2 separate regions of the Homo sapiens genome follow, and region 2 is linked to region 1. Evidence: promoter capture Hi-C in 16 types of primary human blood cells and fetal thymus (Javierre and others, 2016). All regions are on one chromosome and are shown on one strand. Each heading gives the region's core, a stretch centred on a gene start or on the middle of the fragment in contact. The rest is flanking DNA. Distances are from core to core; before and after follow the strand shown.

What was found. Contacts are between HindIII fragments. The CHiCAGO score rates a contact against its expected background, and 5 or more counts as called.
Region 2: a contact is called between a fragment that was not itself captured here and the fragment with the promoter of DHCR7 in region 1, in 1 of 17 cell types (neutrophils). The highest score is 6.0, in neutrophils.

Annotation. Positions count from the first base shown.
Region 1 is chr11:71,446,047-71,453,416 of GRCh38, forward strand. DHCR7 (7-dehydrocholesterol reductase) reads right to left here and starts at 2,347. Exons shown (of 9, transcript NM_001360.3): 1 at 2,244-2,347; 2 at 1,564-1,688. DHCR7-DT (DHCR7 divergent transcript) reads left to right here and starts at 2,482. Exons shown (of 2, transcript NR_186309.1): 1 at 2,482-2,839; 2 at 5,644-6,111. It overlaps NADSYN1 (NAD synthetase 1), which reads left to right and starts at 7,157. Exons shown (of 21, transcript NM_018161.5): 1 at 7,157-7,335. The coding sequence starts at 7,251. RefSeq lists silencers at 2,014-2,653, 6,886-7,255 and enhancers at 2,379-2,880, 5,826-5,875, 5,996-6,075, 7,313-7,370. The HindIII fragment of the contact is 9,377 bases long and covers 974-7,370 here.
Region 2 is chr11:62,873,659-62,881,028 of GRCh38, forward strand. SLC3A2 (solute carrier family 3 member 2) reads left to right here and starts at 7,238. Exons shown (of 9, transcript NM_001013251.3): 1 at 7,238-7,370. The coding sequence starts at 7,366. RefSeq lists enhancers at 6,560-6,609, 6,979-7,370, 7,260-7,370. The HindIII fragment of the contact is 6,323 bases long and covers 2,813-7,370 here.

The DNA.
Region 1 (7,370 bases), core at 1,097-3,596:
GGGCAGGGGCAAGTCCCAAGAGGACAGCTATGCAGCAGGACTAACCAGAAACCAGTCCACATTGGTACAAGATGAATGGCTAGGAAAGAGAGGAAATGAAAATGATGAATTTTGTTGCATCTGAATGTGTAGGAAAATTATTGATATATGTGACAGCTCGGTTAGAGCATCCAGAAAAAAATGAATGAGAGATGCATAGAAACCTTACCAAATGAAAAAAAAAAAAAAAAAAAAAGGAAGGCAACTGTTAACTCCAGGAAAAATAAAAAGTCATATAAGGAAGGAAAAAAAGAAACCAAGCCATTATTATAGGACCTTACTTGGCTCAACAGTGAATAATGGTAATTTTGTCATAACAATGTATACTCTGACTATTTATTGACTATTGTATGCACAGAAGGGAATTTGCAAAGTTAGGGGTACTAAAAGGAAATTACTTAGAAACAAGTAGGTACAAACAACAACACAAAAGTAGCTGAAAGAATGAAAAGTGTTTGCTGCTGGCAAGCAAGACTGTCGGATGTGGGATGTGGTAGAGAGTATTTCTTCTGAAGCCTTTTAACACTGATTTTTAAAAAAATGTGTGCATGAATTACTTTAATAAAAATTCACACACATTTAAAAAATTTCAACGATGAAAGACATTTTCCTTATGCAGTGTGAGAACTTCAGTACCCGCACTTCATTCAATTTACACAAGTTAGTTTATGCAGTTCCTATGATGCACAAAACAAGACGAAGAGTTCTTGATAGGAAGAGACCGTGTCTCTCTCCGGCCCCAAATACTGAATACAGAGCCTGGCGAGTGCCAGTCACTCTCCTTATATCTGTAAAATCAAAGTGGATGAAAGAAAACTACTTCTGAGAAAAGCTGACACGCTAGTGAGTCTGATCTCAAGATCACAGCCACCTGGACAAGCTGGCTTGCTTTAGACAGTTCCTCTCCCCCAGGCTCTCATCAAGGTAAGATACAAGCTTAGTTTCTTCCCAGCCAAAACTTACCAGCTCAGTGCCCCCACTCCCTCCGATCCCTAGTTCCCACACTGACTGGTGTTAATCCAGACCACCCACATGCACACTTGCCTTACAGGAAGGCTAAGTAGAATGGGGTGGCATTCGTCTTGCCCCAAGCCATGGATAAGCTACAAGGGGACAATGCCTGGTACCAACATTATCAATTATGTAAAACACTGGGAAATTGCAAAAGGGTCAGGGGATGTGTAACCTCAGAACTAAAGTGTGAAAAAGCCACTGGGAGAATGTTGTCAAAAGGGATTAAAACAAGACCAAAGAAGTACTTTTAGCTTATTACAGAGTTCATTCACCCAGGAGTCAGCTCTTTAGCCACAAGCATTGAGTTGTGCAATAAACATCTAAGTAACATCCTTCCCAATAGACGGCTGGGAACAGACAAAGGGGAGGTGCCCTGGTATGTTGTATTTTACTCATAAGAGGCACAGACAGTCGTTGGCACTCGAGAGCTGGTGGACCAGTCTGTCTGTACTTTCAACGCTGTGAAGCCATAGCCTGCGCCCACGATCCAGGGCACTGAGATACACTTACCTCCAGCCTCTTGCCAAATAGTTTCACAGCAGAAGGGAACTTTTCCTTCTTGAACCGGCCCCTTAAAAGTTTCTAGACACCTGTGCTCCAAATGCCTGCTTGATCCTTCTCAACCGGCTAAAGTCCTGCAAGGAACACAAAAATGAATAAGACCGCAGGCAGCTGACATTTCAGGAGAGGGCAGAAGCTCAAGGCCCACAGTAGGAGTCAAGCAAGAGGCAGAAGGTCCAGTGCTCAGGGCTTCAACAGCCGCATGTCAGGGAGGACGGCGGACAAGCCAGTCCCATCGCAAAGCTGCTGTGCCTGGCTCAGCACTGACAAAGAGGGAGGCGAACAACAGGTGGGGCAGGAGAAAGAGCCGCCGCGGAGCGCGGCATGGGGCCAGGAGCCGACCCCGGAGCCAGGCAGCCTTCGCCCGGGGAAGCTCCAGACAGCGCGGGGACAGAGCATCCCTCAGACGCCGGCTCGTGGGGGAGGGGGACTATCCACGCCTCCGCCCCGCCTCCCCGGAGCCCCAGCGGCCCCTCGCCTGTGAGCTGGACCCTCTCCCCACCTGCGCGCACGCCCCCTACCCCTGACCCCACCCTCGCCCTGTGAGTGGGCACCTGCTCACCTGGGCAAGCGCCCCCCACTGCGCACACCTTCCCCTGGCCTCACCTGCGCACACCTTGGCCACTCACCTGCGCACACCTCGGCCCCTCACCTGCGCCCACCTTCCCCTGGCCTCGCTTGCGCGCGCTGCTCCACGCCGCCTACCCTCTAGCCAGGGGTCGGAGTCACCCGCAGGGCAGGGGCGCCCGCCCCCGGATGATGTCAGCGATTGCCTGCCAATCGGAGGCGGACCCTGCACGCCCGGCGGCTCCGCGCCCCGTGATTGGTCGAGGAGCCTGAGCTGACTCCGGGCCCACCGCGCCCGCCATTCGGCAGCGGCCGGACTCGAGATTGACGGCCCAGGCCCCGCCCTGCCGCCCCACCGGCCCGCCCGGGCCCTAGTGGGTGGGCGCAGCCTCTGGCGCTTCTTCGGGATCCCAGCTGACCAGCTGGGGGTGGGGCGTGGCGGAGTGGCCACGTGGGCCGCGCGGAGAACGCGCCAGGCTCATCACCTGGATCATCGTGCCTCAGTTTCCCCCTCGGCAAATGGGGCTTCAGCGGCTCGCGACGCACATTGATGGAGCGTATGTCCAGGCGCCGGTGCACCGCAAGGAGCAAAACAGACACAGTTCTTGGTCCTAGGGCTCACGTCCCGGGGCGAAGAGGATCCTCCATAAACGATCAGGTAAACACATGGGTGTCAGGGAAGGCTCGCCGCTGGGAGACCGCCAAAGTGACCCGAGATGGAGTCTGGGTGGCCTGCTTATTAGGGGGGCACACCTGTGCGAGGACGGGAGGGGAGGGAGCAGCAGGACTGGGCAAAGGGAGAAGCTGAGCCACAGTGCGAGCCGGACGCACGGGCCACGTTGCGAGGGCATGACCTGGGGCGAGGCAGCCCTGGAGGAGGGGGCAGCTGAAGGTGTCTGCTGACCCCACACCCAACAGCTCGGGTAACAGGCCTTACTGTCAGAGCGATCTGGTTGCCACGTCTCTGTGGCCCTCAGAGAGACATCATGTTTTCTTTTTTCCCTGCACCTTTTTGTTTTGAAAAATGTTCAGCATACAAACAAGTTGAACGTAAAGTGAGCACGCAGATTCCTAGGTTCAGCAGGGGTGAGCAGCTGGCCACGTTTCATTTCTCTCCCTCTGTGTTTATATATGTGTATTTTTCTTTTTTCCTCCCCACTCAGCCCCCACCATTAGCTGCAGATACCGTGATACCCCCCTCCCAAATACTTCGGTATCCAACTCCTTAAGAACAAGAACCTCCTATATTACCAAAATACAATGACCACATCAGTTCAATGCTGTTATCTATTTTCCATCTCCAGTTTCCCGCGGTTGTCCCAATAATGCCCTTTACAGCCCTTTTGTTATTGTTGTTTTGTTTTGCTTTGTTAAGACGGGGGTCTCTGTCACACAGGCTGGAGTGTAGTGGCACGATCACAGCTCACTGCAGCCTTGAACTGCTGGGCTCAAGCGATTCTCTTCCCTCACCCTCCTGAGTAGCTGGGACTACAAGAGCACACCACCACACGCTATTTTTTTTTTGGTAGAGATGGGTGGGGGGGGGGGTCTCACTATGTTCCCCAAGCTGGTCTCGAACTCCTGGGCTCAAGCGATCCACCCACTGTGGCCTCCTACAGTGCTGGGACTACAGGTGTGAAGCTCTGCCCTACAGCCCTTTTTTAAACCCCAGGATCTAATCAGGGAGCCACACTGTGCATTCAGGCTATGCACTTTTTTTGGCAGGATAATATACTACATAGAGCATGTTTTATCTTGTTAGAAGGCTGTCAACCTGAAATAACCAAACAGGTCAGAATTTAGCTTAAAGAGAGTTTATTTAAGTGTATAAAGTTTGAGGACAGGCTGCCTGGGAAGCACAGATTTTAAAGAATGGAAATCAGTATTTTGAACTGTAGATGTTTGGGATCATTTATGTAGACAAATTTTAGGGAAGTTTAACAGAATTTTAACATCTTTTTATGCATAAAGTTATAATCTGACCAGCTGAGGTGGTCTTTTTTAGGTGGAAGGTATATTTAACATTTTACACTGAAGATGTAGGAGTCTGGTCTAAGTACGGGATAATAAGAGACAATCTATAATAAAGATCAGTAATTAAAAGGGGAGCAGGCCTGGTCTGTGGTCTCTCCTAGTCATTTATAAAACATGAATGATAAAGAAAAACAGCCTATAATCTAAAAGACAAAATTACAAACATGCTATGTGACCCAGTTTCTAGGACTTAACTTCCCTCTTGACATAATAAATTTATTTATTTTTATTTATTTATTTAAAGACAGGATCTTGCTCTGTTGCCCAAGTTGACCTAATAAATTTCAAGAGTCCTAAAATTTTCTTTTTTAAGACAACATATCACTGTGCTCCATGATTGATAGTGGGGCTCCGTGGTTTCTGCCAGAAGTCTCCATTTTTCCTTTTGTTATTAATGAGTAATTGGTGCAGTGATACTTTGAGACTGTAAATATGCTGTTCCCAAATGACCTTTCACCCAGTGAACTAGCATTTAATGAGGAATCTTGCCTGAATCCCTTATTTCTTGGGACAAAGTGTTAATTTTCTAATTTTATCATTCCCTCAACATTTATTAATAAATTATTTATTAGCAAGCATTCTTCTGTAGGGATTTCCTCTTTGATTTATTTTTTATCAGTATGCCCTAATGGATTTAGCTGACCGAGTTATGATCCTTACTGTATTGTCCTGTATTTAGCTAACGGGAGCCCCTTCAAATTGGCTTCTTTTTTCATATGACATGTATCTACCATCCTTTGAGTACTTACTTATTTTCTGGGACAACCAGATGTTCAAGGATCCTCCCCTTCTCTGCCCAGGCCTGGCATCAGCCATTGTTGGCAGGAGATAATTTGAGCAGATCGTGTGGATTTCAGAAGCATGAAAACTACTGTGAGGATTAAATAAGTTAGCATGTATAACATTCTGGTGCTTTTGTGGAGTTTCCAAATTGTCATGAACAAGCACTACTTTATAGACAGGAAAAAAAGTGATTCAAAATGTGAAAACGGGTATATGTACATAAGGTAAAAATAAAATCCTAAGCCCCCCATTGACCAAAGGGACCTTCTCCTGACCAAGGGGACACCAGAAAAACCTCAACACTGAATTCCCAGACATGATGGGATGGGAGGTCAGATGCGCCTGGTAATAGCCCCCTGTTTCAGAGTTTGGACACCACAACTGGCCGGCATTCATGTTAAAACAGAGATCGTAAGACTGACAGAACGGACTCTGTGGCAATAAGATACCAAATTATAAACAGGACCCAAAGCCATGCTAGGCGAGGGTAAGTCAGGCAACCCACACTTAGAGAATAAACTATATTCTAAGAGCCACAAGGCTTTCTGTTTCTCTATTAGCCAAACACACACTAGCCTTGGGATAGGGAATATTAAAACAATTGCAGCTCCACTAGGTGCCAACTAACTGACTCTGTTTCACCAGCCATAGCAGCTGTGATTGGACAAGAGACTGATTTCAGTGACTTTCTCCTAATAAGAGACCACCGACCAGCTGACCATGCCGACCAGCTGACCCGTTAATAGAGAGAGATGATGCACCTGCATGCCTTTGTGTCCTGAAAAGACGTTTTGCCATAAAGGCCCTAATTGTAAGATGTGTAAATGTTAAGTCTCCACCCCAAAGTGAACATGGGTCATATATTACATGCTTTGCTCAATAAGAGGGCATGTGTCAGGACCACCTTCATGAATATTCATAGCTCCTCCTGTTACCTGTTGAATATGTATGTTTAGCCAATCCCTTCAGCATAGCGCTCCTGCCCCAACCCCTCCTCCTTGGACGTGCCTGTCTCTGGCCTTGGCTGGAGACAGATTCCCAGCCTCAGACAGATGGCCGCCACCTTGCAGGCTACGACCGTTTACAAGAAATAAAGCCTTCTCTTTTTCCAAATTTGTGAATTGTGTGTTTTTAAACTAACATGAATGACAGAAGGAAGGATGGCCTCTTCAAGCAACGATGATGAGGCAGTTATTTATATGGGGGAAAAATGGATTCTACCGTGGGTGGACTAAAGAGGAAATGTGAAAAAATAAAAAGTGAGAAACCGCTGGTAGTGAATCGGTGCAAGCGCCCTGGAGAAGAGACTTGGCAATATTTAGTAAAGTCAAACAGCACGAACCCTACTACTCTGCAAAGCTGCTGCAGGAACTGGCGGAACGAGGTCACGAAGGAAACCTTGCCGGAAAGGAAATTGCAGCAGTGCCTGTGTGCGTGCGTCTGTTGGCAAAACGCTGCTAATAACGTCAATGCCCATCCGCTATTGAATAAACCTGCTTTACTGCCACTATGGAATACCAAACTGCAGAAAAATAATTAAAAGAACGTATCTCATATTACAGGGGAAAAAATCAAGTTGCAGAAGCACATTCAAGTGCAGTTCCTGTAGTTTCAGAAAAGGCAAACAGTGCGCTACCTGAGCTACTTACACACGTGGTACAGGAGTGAAAGGGGCAGGAGAGGGTTCCCAAGAATTCAGCGCCATCCGCCCAGGGTGGCGGGATTCCCAGCACGGAGAATCGATTGCTATCGTCTGCTGTCCCGCGGGCACGATGGAGCGCTCCTACCGTACTCTCCACTTTTGGTGTATTTGGAACGTTTCATGCCGTATTAAAATAAAACATGGCTAAGCTGGATGTGGGGTGGCGGTGTGGGATAAAATAGAGGGGTGCTGCAGCTGGGCGGTGAGCCCCCTGCACCTGTGCACCTGAACGGGTTTGCCCGCAAGGGCCGGGCCGGGGCCGGGGCCTGGGACGTGGGTGGAGCCGGGGCGGGGGCGGGGCCCTTCGCGGTGCCGTGAACGCTGAGGCCACCTCGCTGCGCAGGCGCGGTCGTGAGCTCCTCAGACGGGGCGGGGCGATCCGTAGGCAGGGCCTGACGCCGCAGTCCTCCTTGGCCGGAGCCTCAACGGATGGGCGGGGAGGGGGCGGGGCCGGGCAACCCGGAAGGTCCGGCGTCCCAGCCGCCTACCTCGCTGGGACCCTGGTCTTGCTGTCCCCCGCTGGCCTCCTGCCCAAGCGACTGCGGCCAGGATGGGCCGGAAGGTGACCGTGGCCACCTGCGCACTCAACCAGTGGGCCCTGGACTTCGAGGGCAATTTGCAAAGAATTTTAAAGAGTGAGTCTGGGGCGGCGGGGGCACCGGTTTGGGGT
Region 2 (7,370 bases), core at 4,724-7,223, 8.6 Mb before region 1:
GACACGGGGTCTTGCTACGTGGCCCTGTCTGGTCTCAAACTTCTGGGCTCTAATGATTCTCCCATTTTGGCCTCCCAAATTACAGGCGTGAGCCATGGCACCTGGCCAGGCTCATCAGTTATTTGTTTTTTTGTTTATTTCTAATTTTTATTTTAATTATTTTAGACCAGTTCTAGCTCTGTTGCCCAGGCTAGAGTGCAGTGGTGCAATCATAACTCACTGTAGCTTCAACCTCCTGGGCTCAAGTGGTCCCTCCCACCTCAGCTTCCCAAGTAGCTGGGACCCCAGGTACTTGCACCATGCCCAGCTAATTTTTTTTTTTTTTTTTTTTTTTTTTTTTTTTTTTTTGGAGAAAGAGTCTCAAATAATTTATGTAGATCTTCCCTCTGCCCAGAGATACAGAGTTTAACTCTGTACATCTTGAGTGCAGGCTGCGCTTAGTGATTCTCTTCCTCAGAGTGTGATGACAAAGTTTTGGAGGGCCAGGGGAGGGAGAAAATGAGGATGCAGTATTGTGTGATCATGACTGCAGAAATAGCTGCTGTTGGAGGGCCTCAGTGATCATTTTAAGGTCTCTTATTGCTACTTATCTTTTTTGATGAGATTAAGTATTCTGTCTCTGATCAGTTGAATATCTGATGTCATTAATCCAAGGATAATATGTTAAAAGTACTACCCCATATTTTCCACATACTGACCTGCTATTTCTCTGGTGTTTATCTTTTAGTATTTGGTTTCATTTGAGAGAATGGCTTGCTGCAATGTTTTTCATTTGTCTAACTTACTTGAATACTGGATACTTTTCAGATGGTGCATTTATTTCTCTTCTCCTAAGAGATGACTTTGGTTCTATTTCTTTCACTCTTTCTGGCTTTTATCCCCACTTTGCATTCTTCACCCTTTAGTAAGACAACCCTGACAGGTCTCTTCTTTAGCAGCCAGTGTCCCTCCTATAGGATTCATAGTAACAATTAATAGTATTCTGACATGGGTTCTTCAGATAGTAGCTGCGAAGTGAACTGCTTTAGTTGGAGTCTTTTTCTCTGCTTTAATTTCAGCCACGCTTTGACTTCCAAATGCTCAATTCCTCACCCATCTTTCCTTTTTCTTTTTCTTTTTTTTTTTTTTGGAGACAGAGTCTTGCTCTGTCACCGAGGCTGGAGTGCAGTGTAATCTCAGCTTACTGCAACCTCCGCCTCCCAGGTTGAAGGGATTCTCCTGCCTCAGCCAAGTAGCTGGGATTACAGGCACCCGCCATCGTGTGCGACTAATTTTTGTATTTTTAGTAGAGATGGGGATTTGCCATGTTGGCCAAGCTGGTCTCGAATTCCTGACTTCAAATGATCTGCCCGCCTCATTCTTCCAAAATGCTGGGATTACAGGCATGAGCCACCACACTGGCCTCATTTTTCAAATGGCTAAAATCTTCAAGATTTCTGGCTGATTGGTATTTTAGAGGCAGCTTTGATGTTTTGTTTCTGGGTCTTTGGAATAGAGTCTTGGGCTTTCGAAGATTTATGGAGGCTGTTGGACAGAGACAGTCTCCTGAAGAGTTTCTAGCTGTCCTCCCATCTTCTCTCTGCCTTTAGAAATCCTTCTTAGATGTGGCCGGGCACGGTGGCTCACGCCTGTAATCCCAGCACTTTGGGAGGCCGAGGCGAGTGGATCACGAGATCAGGAGATCAAGACCATCCTGGCTAACATGGTGAAACCCCGTCTCTACTAAAAATACACAAAAAAATCAAAATTAGCTGGGCGTGGTGGTGGGCACCTGGAGTCCGCAGGAGAATAGTGTGAACCTTGGAAGGCAGAGCTTGTAGTGAGCTGAGATCGCACCACTGTACTCCAGCCTGGGCGACAGAGCGAGACTTCATCTCAAAAAAAAAAGTCCTTCTTAGATGTTTTTAGTTGTTTGTTTATTTTTCGAGATGGAGTTTTGCTCTTGTTGCCCAGGCTGAAGTGCAATGGCACGATCTGGGCCCATTGCAACCTCTGCCTCCCAGGTTCAAGCGATTCTCCTGCCTCAGCCTCCTGAGTAGCTGGGATTACAGGCAGCCACCACCATGCCCAGCTCATTTTTGTATTTTTAGTAGAGATGGGGTTTCACCACGTTGGCCAGGCTGGTCTCAAACTCCTGACCTCAGGTGATCCGCCCGCCTCAGCCTCTCAAAGTGCTGGGATTGCAGGCATGAGCCACTGCGCCCAGCCTGTTTGTTTGTTTTCAGATAGGGTCACCCTGTCAGCCAGGCTGGAATGCAATGGTGTGATTGTGATCACAGCTCACTGCTGCCTCAACCTGAGGGCTCAAGTGATCCTCCCACTTCAGCCTCCTTAGTAACTGGGACCACAGGGGTGAGCCACCATGCCTGGCTAATTTGTTAATTTTTGTAGAGATGGGGTCTCCCTATGTTGCCGAGGCTGGTCTCAAACTACTGGGCTTAAGTGATCCTCCTGCCTTAGCTTCCCAGAGCGCTGGGATTAAAGGCATGAGCTGCTGTGCCTGGTCAATCCTTTTTACATGTTTGAGGAAAAATAAATGTCCTGTTTTCAGGCTAAGATCAAGTAATAATCCTCATGTGTTAGGAAGCATGTGACATGGATTTTTGCAGCAGAGGGTTAGAAAGGAACTTTCTTTATATACTTGGCCCCCTGCATTTCAGGGCTCCACCGCCATCTGTCTGTCTGAGTGTAAAGTGGACCTTATTGGCATCTGGGCTGCCAAACTGCTTTTTTTCCTTTGCTTTGCCCAGCCTTCTCTTGAAGGCTAAATTCTTGAAAAATTATATTCTTTGTGTTCCTATAGTAAATATTAAGCTTTATATCAACACATATGGCAGGATCTGAGGCTCTTTACTCACCTCTGGTCCATTTCTCTAGTCTTTTCTCTGTAGTCTTTTTGTTTTCCTGTCCTCCATCTCCTAATTTATTAGTTTTATTATTATATTTTATATTATTTTTTTGAGACAGAGTTTTGCTCTTGTTGCCCAGGCTGGAGTGCAATGGCGCGATCTTGGCTCACTGCAATCCCTGCCTCATGGGTTCAAGTGATTTGTCTGCCACAGCCTCCTGAGTAGCTGAAATTACAGGCACGCACCACCATACCTGGCTAATTTTTGTATTTTTAGTAGAAACGGGGTTTCACCATGTTAGCCAGGCTGATATTGAATTCCTGACCTCAATTGATCCGACTGCCTCGGCCTCCGGAAGTGCTGGGATTACAGGTGAGCCACAGTGCCTGGCAGTTTGTTTTATTTTGGTTGAACAGTTACAAGTCTTGGTTTGTTTTCCTGCAGCAACAGGTTTATCTTGATATGATACAGCGTTATTTAAATTCCTTTTCATTTTCCTGCCTTTGTCTTCACATGCTAGTTTTTTTCAGTTGTTTCTTTTTTCTTCTTCCTTTTCTTTTTTTTTTTTTTTGAGAGATAGTCTTGCTGTGTTGTCCAGGTTGCAGTACAGTGGTGCGATCTGGGCTCACTGCAACCTCTGCCTCCTGGGTTCAAGTGATTCTCTCACCTCAGCCTCCGGAGTAGCTGGGATTACAGGTGCCCACCACCACGCCTGGCTAATTTTTGTATTTTTAGTAGAGACAGCGTTTCACCATGTTGGCCAGGCTGGTCTTGAACTCCTGACCTCAATTGATCTGCCTGCCTTGGTCTCCCAAAGTGCTGATTACAGGTGTGATCCACCGTGCCTAGCCTGTTTAGTTGTTTCTAAGAAGGGAGATATTGGTTTTGATTGACATAGTTCATCCACTTATTTACCAAACACTTGCGAAGTGCCTACTATATGCTGCCTCCGAATAGGCAGGTTCGTCCACAATAGCACAAGGCTCCTGCCACTTGTCTTCAAGGACAAAGAGACATCCAGACAAACAAATGTAATAAACAAATGGGACATGATTGTAGCAGAGGCAGATGCATGGTGGAGGGAAAGTAATTTTGTCTGGGGAGTTGAGAAAAGCTGTCACTTGAGCTAGATCTTGAATGAATAGGAACTCATGAGGTTGAGTGGACAAACAGGAAGGGCCAACAGCAGAGGTATGGCATGTACAAGATGCAGAGCTCTGCCTGAAAAAGCCTGGTGTGTTGTGAGTCTGGCAGGTGTTTGAAGGCTGATGTGGCTGGAGGCTAGTGCCTGTGAAGCAGGTGGTGGCTGATAAGATTGGAGAGGCAAGCTGTTATCCTCTTTATGCATGCAGAAGGAATTGACTTCAGGCTGGGCACAGTGGCTCATGCCTGTAATCCCAGCACTTTGGGAGGCTGAGGCGGGCAGATCACCTGAAGTTAGGAGTTCAAGACCAGCCTGGCCAACATGGTGAAACCCTGTCTCTCCTAAAAATACAAAATTAGCCGGGTGTGGCGGTGCACGCCTCCTATAATCTCAACTACTGGGGAGGCTCAGGAAGAAGAATCGCTTGAACCTGAGAGGCACAGGTTGCAGTGAGCTGAGATCGCGCCACTGCACTCCATGCTGGGTGACAGTGTGAGACCCTGTCTCAAAAAAAAAAAAACAAAAAACAAAAGGAATTGACTTCAGCCATTTGGAGCCATGAGGATCTGTGAGTGAGATACTGTGTCATGTTGGACCATCTCAAAGACAGCTTCTGACCCCACAGTTCTCAACCTTGTTCTTACTTATTTTTAGAGACAGGGTCTCGCTCTGTCTCCTAGGCTGGTATGCAGTGGTGCCACCATGGCTCACTGCAGCCTCACAAACTCCTGGACTCAAGTGATCCTCCTGCTTTTGCTTCCCTTGAGTGTTGGCATCTCATGGGACTCCAGGGGCACATCACCAATTACAGATGATAATTTTTTTTTTTTTTGAGACGGAGTCTTGCTCTGTATCCCAGGCTGGAGTGCAGTGGCGCGATTTTGGCTCACTGCAAGCTCCGCCTCCCAGGTTCACGTCATTCTCCTGCCTCAGCCTCCTAAGTAGCTGGGACTACAGGCACCCGCCACCACGCCTGGCTGATTTTTTTTTTTTTTTTTTGCATTTTTAGTAGAGACGGGGTTTCACTGTGTTAGCCAGGATGGTCTCGGTCTCCTGACCTCTTGATCCACCTGCCTCGGCCTCCCAAAGTGCTGGTATTACAGGTGTGAGACACCACGCCTGGCCTTTTTTTTTCTTTTTTGAGACAGAGTCTCACTCTGTCACCCAGGCTGGAGTGCAGCCGCGCAATCTTGGCTCACTGCAACCTCTGCCTCTCGGGTTCAAGCGATTCTCATGCCTCACCCCTCCAAGTCTGGGACTACAGGCGTGTGCTACTATGTCCAGTTAATTTTTGTATTTTTAGTAGAGATGGGGTTTCACCATGTTGGCCAGGCTGGTCACGAACTCCTGACCTCAAGTTATCCGCCACCCTCAGCCTCCCAAAGTGCTGGGATTACAGGTGTCAGCCACCACACCTGGCCTGTTAGTTTTTTTGAGGCAGAGTCTTGCTCTATCACCCAGACTGGAGTGCAGTGGCCCATTCTTGGCTCACTGCAACCTCTACCTCCTGGGTTCAAGCGATTCTCATGCCACAGCATGAGAAGTGGGATTACAGGGATTAGTAGGTGGGATTACAGGTGTGAGCCACCACACCCAGCCAGGCCCAGATAATTTTAAAATTTATTTTTTTATTTATTTAGAAATGGAGTCTCACTATGTTGCCCCGTCTGGTCTTAAACTCCTGGCCTCAAGGAATCCTCCCTCCTTGGCCTCCTAAAGGGCTAGGTGACAGGCATGAGTCACACTGCGCCCAGCCTTGAGCTTTTGTGCTCGAGATATAGTCCATTCAGAACCTCTGGTTGGCACTTCTTATCTGGCACATGCAGGGCACCTTGGATCTCTTATTATCTTTGAGCACTGGTCTGAACCCACTTGCTTGCCTTCTCCCAGGGGCTGCCCCGTGCACCCCTTGTTCCTAGGGTGGGGATGGGGTTGGATGCCTGGGGTTGCAGAGGGGACTAGCAGAGGGTGACCCTTTTCTCTATGCTATTACTTCAGATCTTGGCTTTTGCTTTCTTCCAAATACACAGCAATCTTGGCTTCCAGCCTAGGTGGGAAAGGGAGAAAGAACCGATTTCCTCCAGCTCCTCTCTGAAAGTAGCCCAACTGGCACTGTTTAGGAACAAGGAGTTCCTGAGAGTGTTGGCACCCCACGGTGTTGATGTCCGGTAGTTCCCTGCTGTGAACCCTGTCTCTGCCCCACTTCAATCCAAGGACCCTGTGGAGGGAATTCTAGGCTTCTTCAAAGCCTCTGCAGTACCAGCTGCCTCCAAGGCCTAACATAGTGAAGTGATAGGGAGACAGGACCTTGGGGGAGTTTGGGGATAACTGTGGGAGTTCCTGCAAGGTGGGTAAGAGTCTGGCCATGGCATCTTCTGGTCTATTCCACAAAAAAGGTGGATGCCTCTGAGACCTAGCTCTGTTATGTTCATTACAGCCCTATCAGTCTCTTCTGGATGTCTGATTCCTAGCTGCCAAACATCCAGGTGCTAGCAGCTGGGGGTGGGGTAGGATAAGAAGGGGGGTGTCTACCTCAACCTTCCTGCCCAAACCATTCATTTTAAAGTACTGTGAAGAAGGCTGGATTAGTGTTAAATTCAATAAAGTTAACAAAGCAAAGTATTGTAGTGAGTACACAATAAATAGTTGCTGCATGAGGAATTTCTTGAAATGAATTCAAGATGAGTCTTGAAAAACGAGTGGGAGTAAGCCGTGCACGGAAGCAGAGGTCTAGCAGAGGTCTAGCGCCAAGTCCCAGAGGCCTGAGAGGGCAAGCCTTGGTGGGGGAAAAGGCAGAAGTTGTGACTGGCTGCCTCTGAGAGTGCAAGTAGCCATGCAAAGTTGGGAAAACCAGACGGCGGCCGGAGCCGTGAACCAGGGGCAAATGGAGGATGGTGTTGGGGTAGTCACTAGCCTGCCGGAATGGAAGAAGAGGGGCGTTTGGGGGCGGTAAGGCCTAAAGGACACTGGAGGGGCCTCGGGATTTGGGGCAGGATCACAGGCCTAGTCCACTTAAAGGTGGCTCCGTGCCAGGCCTTCCCAGAATCAGGTTGAAAAGAACTTTAGGGTTAGACAGGTTGGAGATGAGAAATTGGACCATGCAGGAAGTACTGTCGGAGGCGTGTTCCTGACTTTACTACCCTGAGCCGCCCACGGCTGGGGCAGTCCCCGAGGTTCCACCTTAAGGGGCGGGCCGGGGCGGGGCTCCGCTGCCCCTTCCCAGAGGCCGCGCCTGCTGCTGAGCAGATGCAGTAGCCGAAACTGCGCGGAGGCACAGAGGCCGGGGAGAGCGTTCTGGGTCCGAGGGTCCAGGTAGGGGTTGAGCCACCATCTGACCGCAAGCTGCGTCGTGTCGCCGGTTCTGCAGGCACCATGAG